Linked DNA regions of Homo sapiens: region 2 is linked to region 1. Evidence: promoter capture Hi-C in human tissues and cell types (Jung and others, 2019). All regions are on one chromosome and are shown on one strand. Each heading gives the region's core, a stretch centred on a gene start or on the middle of the fragment in contact. The rest is flanking DNA. Distances are from core to core; before and after follow the strand shown. Region 1 holds the start of SEZ6L (seizure related 6 homolog like). Region 2 overlaps MYO18B (myosin XVIIIB).

Evidence for each region. Contacts are between HindIII fragments. The study calls those that stand out against the background at their distance.
Region 2: a contact is called between a fragment that was not itself captured here and the fragment with the promoter of SEZ6L in region 1, in 3 of the 25 tissues and cell types used here (H1 embryonic stem cells, dorsolateral prefrontal cortex and mesendoderm cells).

The regions. Positions count from the first base shown.
Region 1 is chr22:26,167,378-26,172,736 of GRCh38, reverse strand. SEZ6L (seizure related 6 homolog like) reads right to left here and starts at 3,275. Exons shown (of 17, transcript NM_021115.5): 1 at 2,974-3,275. The coding sequence starts at 3,067. LOC105372971 (a long non-coding RNA gene) reads left to right here and starts at 3,503. Exons shown (of 6, transcript NR_188586.1): 1 at 3,503-3,734. RefSeq lists an enhancer at 1,357-2,296 and a silencer at 3,123-3,252. The HindIII fragment of the contact is 7,592 bases long and covers 1-5,027 here.
Region 2 is chr22:25,782,297-25,787,655 of GRCh38, reverse strand. MYO18B (myosin XVIIIB) reads right to left here. Exons shown (of 44, transcript NM_032608.7): 11 at 2,165-2,228. Among named protein-coding and RNA genes, the nearest start is that of MYO18B, 43 kb to the right of the region's middle. The HindIII fragment of the contact is 6,683 bases long and covers 1-5,359 here.

The sequences.
Region 1 (5,359 bases), core at 2,026-4,525:
TAATCAGAAAGAGGGAGGGGAGAGATGATAGCAAGGCCTCCAGGCTGAGAGGAGCTCCATTCTGCTGACCTTTGGTGTTGCACACACCTGGTTGTTCACAGGTCAGAATTCCCCTCTCTTCTGCCCTTAGTCGCCAGCTAGATCTTGGAGCGCCCCTAGTGGAGGTCTGCACAGTAGGTATATTGGATAAATTGTCTCTGGACAGAATAGGAGGGCCAGTAAATCGAGCTCATTTGAACAGCTTGCAGGAATGGACTTGTAAGCAAAAATAAGAAAACAAGCCACTCTGATCAGAAAATATCCTTTTGCCCTGGAAGGGGAAGGAAAGGAATGTAACATTATTTTCTTAATACCTAACTGAGCCATATGAACACAAGATGAATCCCTCAAGCTTAGATACGGTGGCCCCTGGCAGGAACGGGCAAAACTCTATGGAAAATAATGCCAATCCATAATGAAAATAGTCTTTAAGTGAATCTAACCACAACACACGTTAGAGACTGGGGAAGCAGCAAATTTGAGCCTTATTGAGCAATACTGAATTTGCCTTATTAATTCAAGAGAAAAAGAAAAGAAATTATTCTTAGGCTTTGCAGTCTTTGCATGTAGTTACAATTATTCCCCATGTGCATATCTGAGACAATAAGGAGGCTCTTCAAAAACAAGTTATACTTTATACTTATTCATGCCTTACAGCGAAATGGCCCAGAGAACCACGTGACCTGCATCAGAATGTAGCAACAAGTCCCTTTTGAGTATTTACAAATCCCCTCACTTCACCGCAAGCAGAAGAACTAGTTCGCAACAACGAGTTAGGTGAATGGTTCTCCATCTGACATTAGTGGATGTTGGGCTCTACATTAAAAATAGAATTTATTGTGGAAGGTCAATTGTCTCCAAATGCACCATCAGACTCGGCAATGCTCATTGGCCAGTATCACTCCCTCCTTATGACTCAGAGTCAGAACCACACACTTATTAATGAGCTTTCTGAAGTAGCACATCAATTGACTTTAATTTGGTGGTGACCTGAAGTCAATTTAAAAAATATGCTGGCTAGCCATGGTGTTGAGCAGTTGGAAAAATAGTATGAAATGTCTTAAAAATTAAAACACACACATGTCTCCCCCTGCTCTTACAATGTGTTTGCAGCCCGTGAAGGAAACAGAATAGGAAATCCTTGTCTTAGATGACAATTCAATACGTGCCATTAAGACAATTTTTTTTTCCCTGCAAGGTGGTGTATTGGAGAGTGGAGTTCTCAGAGGTAGAACTGCTTTAGAAAATCCAGTAAGCTGCTGGGTAGATTCAGGTTCTTTTTATATGTGTGTTAGTCACAACACAGATTCAAAAGGGGGTGGGGGAGGGAGAGCTGGACTCAGTTCAAGGCCACCAAGCCATTGTTAGAAAGAGACAGCTAATTAAGAAAGGCCATGCTGTGGTGGAAACGATTTGTTTAAACCAAATCTCTTTCCCTATCTTTCCCAGAGAAACTGTCCAGACCTGGTGTAAATTGTGGACATTATTGCCCCATAAAAAAGGGGTGGGGGTTCTTCAATGATATGCTTTGTTAAACAAAAGGTGATGAACAATTTCCTTTGCTCTGCACTCTGGGCTCTACATTTAAAAAGACGGGGAGATGGGGGATAAAATGCCTGATTTATGCTGAGGGGGGCACTCCAGGCCACCGGGAAGGGTTGAAGGGAAAGGGACCCAGAGCCAGGGCCCATGGAGCTGAGAGCTGTCCAGGGCCTTTGGTGCTGAAAGCAGGTGCGCGCGCTGGGGGTCCAGAACTCCCCGGAGAAGAACACCGCCTGTCCCCCAACTCCGAGTCAAGACGGTGCAAATGACAGAGGCGGAGCCCCAGATAAGCATAGTGCCTGCGCTCCCTCTGTCTTCAGCCTGGGCAGACCCTGCAGCTGTCTGCTTTTTTACACGTGAGGAGCGCATTTCTGGGACCTTGCAAGAAGGCCGGGTCCTGTGGCCAACTAACCCTCCCATTGATTTTCGGGTCTCCTAGGTGCCTGAGAAAACCCCCGAAGCTCTGAGGGTTAGCTTTGGGTGAGTTAGGCGTTGCACCCCTCTCTCTATCTGGCCCTCTCCCCCACCCATAACTTTTCCTGGGGTACCTTACCGGGGTGGAGAGAGGGTATGGTTCCAGGTCTGAGAAAGAGGAGCTGTCATTCTCTGCTAAATTTGGGCCCCTCTTCCCCTTCAACAAACACGTGGTAGATGAAACTAACACCCCTCACCCCCCATTCCTAACAGTGATCAGAGATGCTAGGCAGTAGGGGAGAGAGTAGAGGGGAGCCCGTTCAGGTTCCCAACTGCTAACTAACATCTCTTCTCCCTCCCCTACCAAGTTCTCAGAGCCCTCAGCCCCCTCCACCGGCCTCTAGCGAAAGCCACACCCAAGTCCGGTATCCTGACGCTTGGCTGAGATCGATCCAGGAACACAGACCCTCGGGGTAGCCTGAACCAAAGGAGTCAAGGGTTTCTGTGGTGTCGGGGGGAGCGGCAAATGCACTGTTTGAGTCTAGTCCTCAGTTGCAGGGTGGGTCAGCTTCTCACCCCCCTTCCTGTCCTCTCCCGGAGAGGAAGATAATTATCTGGCACCTAGCCCCGGGTGCGGTTGCAGAGAAGCGCCGGGAATTTGGGGTTTGGAGGCGACCCCACTCCAAGGAGAACCTCTTTGGCTGCAAAGGAGAATCAGCCCCGCAGCCGGGGAAGACCGAAAGGGAGCCCGCAGCCGAAGCAGGGAAGCGCCCGAGTCCTTCAACACATCCCCGCCTCCACACTCCCATCAGCCCGGGCCAAGGGGACGTGCGGTTCCTAGCCCCGATTTTGGACAGCCACCACCGCTTCCCATCCCGGCGGGTGGTGCCTGAGTCGCCCTGGTCAGCCCCGACCCCTGGCTGCCCCGCTCTCCCGGCAACTTTGCCCCCTGCCCGCCCCGCCCCTCGGGGCGCTTACCTCGCTCCAGCGCTGCCGCCGGGCTCCCCAGGAGCAGAGCGAGGAACAGCGAGATCCCGCGGAGTCCCGCGGCGGGCGGCCGGGCCGCGGGCATCGTGGCTGCAGGGGGCGCGGAGCCGCTGGCTGTGGGGCGGGCGGACGGCGAGGGAGCTGGGGAAGGAGGGCGGCGGTGAGCGAGAAAGGGGAAGCGGGAGCGAGGGAGGAGGCCGCGGGCCGGGGCAGCTTCCGGAGCCCCCTGGGCGGACGCGCGCTCAGCCCCGCGGTCGCTCTGGCCGAGCTGCGCCGGGCGCGGGCGGGCGAGTGAGGAGGAGCCGGCGAGCGAGCGAACGAGCGTGGAGCGAGCGGGAGGAGGGAGGGGGCTGGGGCCGAGTCTGTGCCGAGCGAGTGCAGGGAGGGAGGGGGCGGGCGAGCGGGCAGTGAGCTGGAGGGGCCGCGGCGGCGCCGGGGGTGCCAGCCGCCTCCTCTGGCCGCCGGCCCGTCGGCCCTGCAAAGTTTAACGCCAATTCCCCTTGCGTCCTGGGAGCCGAGCGTTTTCTCTCCCTGCTGACGCTCCCAGCAGCTCTGCCTGGCCAGGCCAGGCTGGAGAGCACCCGGACCATTTTCCAGACGGTGAGATGGAGCCCTGGAAACCGAGCTTATGAGCAGCCCGGAGCTTTCCATTGCCTGCCCAGCCTTCCAGATACATCCCAGTTCCAGTTCTTTCCAGAGCCCTCTGGGATCCAGCCAGCCTGCTTCCCCGCCAGGGCCTCACTGCTTCCAAAGTGAGTCCCCATAACCTAGAAAGTCTGTAACTCTGTGGATCTGGTGACAGCTGTGAATCTACTAGAACACTACACATAGCCACAAAATCGTGCATCTAACACGAGGGGGTCTGGACCCCTCTGAAGCCCAATCACGAACTCTAAATTAAGATCCACCTCCACTTTTTAATCTGAGCCCTGTCTCCCATAACCCCACTGCCGGCAGGGCACTAGCGCTGCGAGGCTTCCTCTCAGGTCAGCCGCTTGCCTCTTCCTGTACCCGCTTCCCTATCTGAGCAGGACTACAAGGCCCACCTCTGCAGCATTCTTGCCCAGGCCTGATTCTCAAGCAAAGTCTTTTCTCCACAAATAGAGGTAGTGAGGGACAATCAATGAGGGAGATAAACAGATACTTGGGGACAGACATTGGCAGAGAGCTAGGTGGGGACAAGCTTATGCACAGTCCTGGAGACTGACTGTCTCTCCCTGCGTAGCCTTGGCAGACCGGTCAGGCTTTACAGGCCTCTCACCCAATTTAGAAGCTGTCCTCCTCCCCCTACCCTACCTTGCCATACTATCTACACACTGCAGCCTGAACAGGCAGAGGGAGCAGATGGAGAGAAGGTTGCAGGCAGCAACAGGGGGAGGAATATGTCTTTAGCAGCGTGGTGGAGCCGGGAGTCCCTAGAAAGAATGGGTGGGGGAGGTGAACACTGGATGGAGGAGGGAAGGAGAAGCACTCTGGCCCAGGGTTTCAGAAGACGCTCCACACCCAGAGCTTCCCCATTTACTCACTCAAACAATGCTCTTTTACAGGCCACTGACTATAGGCCCAGACCTGCCTCAGGCTTTGGGGGACAGAGAGCCCCCCCATAAAATCCTATCTTCAGCTGCAAGAGGTTTCCATTCCTGGCAGTAAACCCAACTGGCTTTTATAAAGAAGGTGGCTGAGGCAGGGATGCAGGAGTGCTGATTTCTCCTTTGGAGAAGATGAAGCACTCCATGCTTTACTGTATGAGGCTGCCAGCTCTCTGTGGAATGACCTTGCCTGTTTGTGGCTATACGCTCAGGCTCTGTATAGTATAATGCAGGCATGCAGCGGGTGCTCAGTGAGACTTGTTCAATGGAAACCTAAAGAAGCAAGGAAGATGGAGGAGGAGGGGAAAGGGAAGAAAGCGAGCGAGAGAAAAACGAAGAGGTAGTTTAGCTCCATACTTGGAGGCAAGGAAACTATTTTTAATTCCTAGGTTCAGGGGTACTTGTGCAGGTTTGTTATGTGTGCAAACTTGTGTCATGGGAGTTTGTTGTACAGATGATTTCACCAACCAGGTATTAAGCCTGGTACTCAATAGTAATTTTTTTCTGATCCTCTCCCTCCTCCTGCCTTCCACCCTCTGGTAGGCCTCTGTGTGTGTTGTTCCCCTCTATGTGTCTGTGTGCTCTCATCATTTAGCTCCCACCTATAAGTGAGAACTTGTGATATTTGGTTTTCTGTTCCTGCATTAGTGTGCTAAGGATAATGGTCTCCAGCTCCATTCATGTTTTTGCAAAGAACATGATCTCATTCTTTTTTATGACTGCATAGTATTCCATGGTGTATATGTACCGTATATATGCTCATTCATTGATGAGCATTTAGGTTGATT
Region 2 (5,359 bases), core at 1,992-4,491, 390 kb after region 1:
GAGAATGAAAGAAATTTCATTCTCATTCTCATGGCCAGCTCTTGGTCACCTCTTCCAAGCAGCCTCTCTGATATGCCCCCAACTCTCCAGGCTTGCCCATACAATATTTGGGACATACTTATAAGGTGACAAGTAGATTAGCCCCCAGAGTTCAAAGACGGGGCAGACACATCACCTCACCCAGTGCAGAAACAGACTCTACAACAGTGGTTCTCAAAGCGGGGTCCCTGGACCAGCAGCATCAGCATTGCTGTGAACTTGTGAGAAAGGCACATTCTCAGGCCTCACCCAGAGCTACTGAATTAGAAACTCTGCAGATAATACTCAGCACTGTGTAAGACAGACTGTGTGTGTGTGTGTGTGTGTGTGTGTGTGTGTGTGTGCGCGCGCCTGCACGCACACAGGCTTAGCAATTTTTTTTTCTTTTTTCTTTTTTTTTCTGAGACAGAGTCTCGCTCTGTCTCCCACGCTGGAGTGCAGTGGCACAATCTCTGCTCATTGCAACCTCCACCTCCTGGATTCAAGCAATTCTCCTGACTCAGCCTCCCAAGCAGCTGGAACTACAGGCATGTGCCACCACGCTCAGCTAATTTTTAGTATTTTTAGTAGAGATGGGGTTTCACCATGTTGGCCAGGCTGGTCTCAAACTCCTCACCTCAGGTGATCTGCCCACCTCGGCCTCCCAAAGTGCTGGGATTACAGGCGTGAGCCACCGCACTGGCTGAATTTCTTTAATGACCAATGATGTTGAGCATATTTTCATGTGCTTAGTTGCCATCCATTTACATTTTTTTTGTATGTTCCATATTTTGCCCATCTTTTTTGTTGGGTTGAGTTTTGAGAATTACTTTTATATTCTAGATAAAAATCCTTTATCAGATAAGTGATTTGCAAATATTTTCTCCCAGTCGGTGGCTTGCTTCTTCATACTAATAGTGACTTTAAGAGAGCAGATGCTGTTCCTTTTGATAAAGTTAATTTGTTCTCTTATGGACTGGGATTTTGATGTCTCATTTAAGAAATCTTTGCCCAGCTCAGGGTTACAGAGATTTTTCTCACCTTTCTTCTAGAAATTTTGTGGTTTGAAGTTTTGCAATTAGATCTGTGACTCATTTTTTGTTAATTTTAGTATATCATGTGAAATATGGATTTTTTTTTTTTTTGCACCAGGATATCCAATTATTCCAGCACTATTTGTTTCCCAGACATGTATATTTGAAAAGAGGCTTTGGAGTGGAAATTATCTACTTCCCTCCATCTGGTGAACTCCTATTCATCCTTCAAAACCCAGGCCAAATGTTCCCTTGGCTAAGAAGTCTTCCCTGGCAAAGTCCAAGTAGCTCTATCAGCTATCTTGTGGTGCCCGCAGCATTTCATGCAACCTCTGACATATTCTTATCTCACATGATTGCATTAATTTCCAAGTCTGTGTCTCCTGCTAAAGTGAAAATCCATGGATGAGGATCATACTCCTAGCACTCAGCAGGAACATACACCTAACACAACACAGGCCCAGCATAGGTGGTGATGAAGGTATTTGCGAGAGAAGGGAGAAAACAATGGTTAAAATAATTGAATAATAAAATATCAAACCAGTGAACCATTTGCTTTTTTAAGCAATGAAATACCTAACTCTCAGCCCCACTCATAGACTATATTCATCAGGAAACCATCGCTGAGTGCCCCTACCCAAGTTAACCACCACTAGTACTGACAAAGAGCACCCTATTGATTGATTTAGGCCAAGCCCTGTTCTAAGCACGTTATACACATCATGTCATTTCACCCTCACAACAACCCTATGAGGCAGATACTGCTACTATCATTACTGTACTGAAGAAGAGACAGACCTACCAGGAGGTTAAGGTCCATGCCTGAGGTTCACCTACGTAACAAGTGTCAGAGCTGGGGCTTGAACTAGACTGATTCCAGGGCCCTAATCCTACCTCTACGTATACTATGTCTGGTTTCCTTTATTTGTCTGAGTCTTCTTTACCCAATAAGCCGAGACCCTACAAAGGCAGTGCCAACTCTTCCACATGACCAACCCTTGCCAACTATGAACCCCAGTACCAAAAGAGACAAGTTGCACGGCGACTCATCACCCTCCCATCTAGCCCCAGACACAGACTCACATCCCACCCGTGAGGGACCTCCTCCTTACCTTGGACCACACGCCCATGCCAAAGGAGCTGCTATCTGCCATCTGGTGCAGGTTCAGCTCCGTCCTGGAAGCACAGAAGGAACCAGGAGTCAGGGGGGCTGTCCACACCAGCCCTGGCAGGGCAGGTGGTCGTCACAGTGTGAGGCTCCACACAACTGCCCGGACACCCCAGGGGCTGTCCCTGTCCCTGGCCTTGGCCCCACTAACTCTGCCCTGGGATATCTTCAATCTCCCAAATATTCCTCACGCACAGCCCTCACTTGGCCCTTCCTAAAGGCCAGGAAATCCCAGGAGAAAGGGTTGTAGAGGAAAATCAGGAGAGCAGGGACTAACCCCAGATCTTCTAATCAGCTGAGCGACCTCACTCAAGGATAATATTAAAACAGTCAACATGAACGAGCCCTTACTGCATGCTAAGTCCTAAGATGACTCATGACAGCCCCACTCCATGGGTACAAATATTATTTCCATTTTACAGTTGACAAAACAGAGGCACTGAGAGTGGGTACCTGCCCCAAGACTTCACAGCTAGCAAGCATGCAACCAGAAGCTGAGCTGAGGTCTGTTGGCCCCTCGAGCCCAGACTCCGCGCTATCCTGCCACGTGCACCTCTCCCGGCCTCAGTCTGCACTTTATGAAGCAACACAATGTTTAAGGCTCCTTCCCGTGTTCAACCTGCAGGTTCCTCGAGAGTGAGACCAGCAGATGGGCCACCCACTTTTGCAGGCTTGAGGAATGCAAGCCAAAGGCGGGGTGGGCACAGCTATGCCCCCTGCCCCTTCGAATCACACTCTCTACTCACAAAAGCATTGTAGAGCCCAGCCTAGGATCCCCAATCCCACGTTGGTTCAAATTGGTTCCTGGAAAGTGGGGATTACTCATCAGTCTCCAGCCAGCTTGTCTGGTTCTGAGGCCTTCAGTGTCCTCTCCCTGGATTCTCTACAGACCCCACACCCCTCTCTGCCTCGTGACTTTGAAGGAGTCTTACCAGCTAGGCTTCAAGTCCAACCCCAGTGCTGCCATGTGGCAGACAAGGTAATTCTCTTCTCTGCAACTCACTTTTTCTTATCTGTAAAATGGGCCCCCTACTCTACTTGCCTCCCAGGATTAAATGAGATATTATACATAAACTCACACTGCCAGGCTGGCATGGAGTAAGTGCTCTGTTTTCCTCACACTCTCTTCCATTCACTGGAAATTAAATCTGACAAATAATTAAGAAGCATCTACCTGGTGCCAAGCCCTGGGCTAGGTACTGGGAAAGCAGAAAGAACAATGACAGGGCCCCAATTCAAAGATCTCCCAGTCCATCTGGTGAGGAAGGGAGACTGCGCTGGCAGGTTTTTGAACCAGAAGCACATACCAGGCACCAAAACAGTATAAAGGAGAAACTGAGGAGCAAGAATCAGGCAGTGCTCCTCTAAAAAAGGGATCTGGAGTAGGGTTTTGAAGGATGAATAGGAGTTTCCCACATGAGTGCATGGGAGAAAGGACATTTGTGCAAGTGAGAACCCGTTTTTGACCTTTGGAAGCTTCCATATGGGTGACGGACCAAGTTGGCAGCAGCAGAGGTAGAGAAAGGGAAGTAATTGGGGGATCACCAATGAGGCTTCAGAATGACAATGACTCCCTGAGGGGGCTGAGTTGCTCCAAGCACTTTACTCACTCTCTTAGGGTCCCTGAAACTCATCTGGGCCACCTCTTCCTCTCAGAGGCAGCTTTGGCCCAGCTCCTAAGGATGCCAAACTCAATAAGGATGCCACCAGCATGGAGGGCCCCTGGCCTAGGCCTGGCTTGGAATGAACGTCTGGCATCCTCTGCTAGCCACAGTTGAGCCTCATCCTTCCTGGGCCCACCCCAGGGTAAGCCTCCAAATCCCCCTCTCCAGGAGGCAATGCTTCTATCCCCAGAGCCAAGCCCCACCCATGGGGTACAGAAGAGAGAGCCCCAGTGTGGAACTCCAGGGCTGGAACAAGGGTGATGTGTGTGTCTGAGAGATGTTCTGAGAGGTGAGAAAATGGAGGTCCCAAGAGGTGAGGCCACGGGGCTGAAAGTGGGATTCCTATGTTCAGGGCCCACCTACCTACTCCTTCCCACATTACACCATTACTATGCACCGCACATGGCCCCTGCTGCCTTGACATGCGATCTCATTTAAATGCCTACGGGGTTGGCACTAGTAGGAACCCATTTTACAGGAGGAGAAACCAAGGCTCAGAGAAGCCCATGTGGGGCAAAGCCCAGATCAAACCCATGTCTCTCTGAATCCAAAGTCATTTCTTTGGATGACCTGGTCAGGGCCTGGTCAGGGCCTGTCAGGGGTATCAAGGCAGATCAAATCCTCCAAAAACAAGAACACACACACACAAAGCATTTGCTATGTCCGGGCACTATTTTAAGAAGTATTGTCTGCCTGATCATATTTTAATCCTCACCACAACACTGGGATACAGTCACATCTATTTTTGTAGATAAGGAAAGTCAGGCTCAGAGAGGTGAAGTCATTAGCTCAAGGTCACACAGCCAACAAGTGGAGAAGCCAACATACAAATCCACACAGCCTTGTCCTCGAGTCTGTGGTACCTGTCACTCTGCTATACCACCCCACTCCAAGTTCTTCTACAGATTCTCAAGATCTTCTAGAAGTTTCCCTGCTGCTCAGTTACAATCACTCTAAAAACTGGGAGTTCCCTCTCTACTCTGCCTTCTCTCTGCAGGTTACAGCTGTCCCTCCAGCCTTAGCCAGGACACTCCAGACAGGTTGAGGCTGTCCTTCAGATGGGGAGGGAAGGTTGGGGAACAAACAATGGTGAGGTTAGAGCACAGTAACCACAAATTATCACCCCTCATGTGGGAAAACCCACTTTTTCCTCTCCCCGACACTTCACTAGGACCATGCCCATCCATCCAACAGAGGAGGAAACCAAGGCTCTGGGAGAGGAAGCCACATGAGCCACATGCCTAAGGATGCCCTGTAGATTTGGGGAAGGGCAGAGATGGCTTTTTAGGCCACCTCCTCCAGGAGGCCCTCCAAGATGAGGCTTGCCTGACTACCCAGCTCACTGCTCCACTCAGCTCCAGGTCCATCCTGAGGAACCTCATGTAGGCATACCCTACCATACACCCAAAGCTCCCACAAAAGTTTAGAAACTTCTGGAAGACATGGGGGTCTGCTGTCCCTCTCCCTCTTCCCAT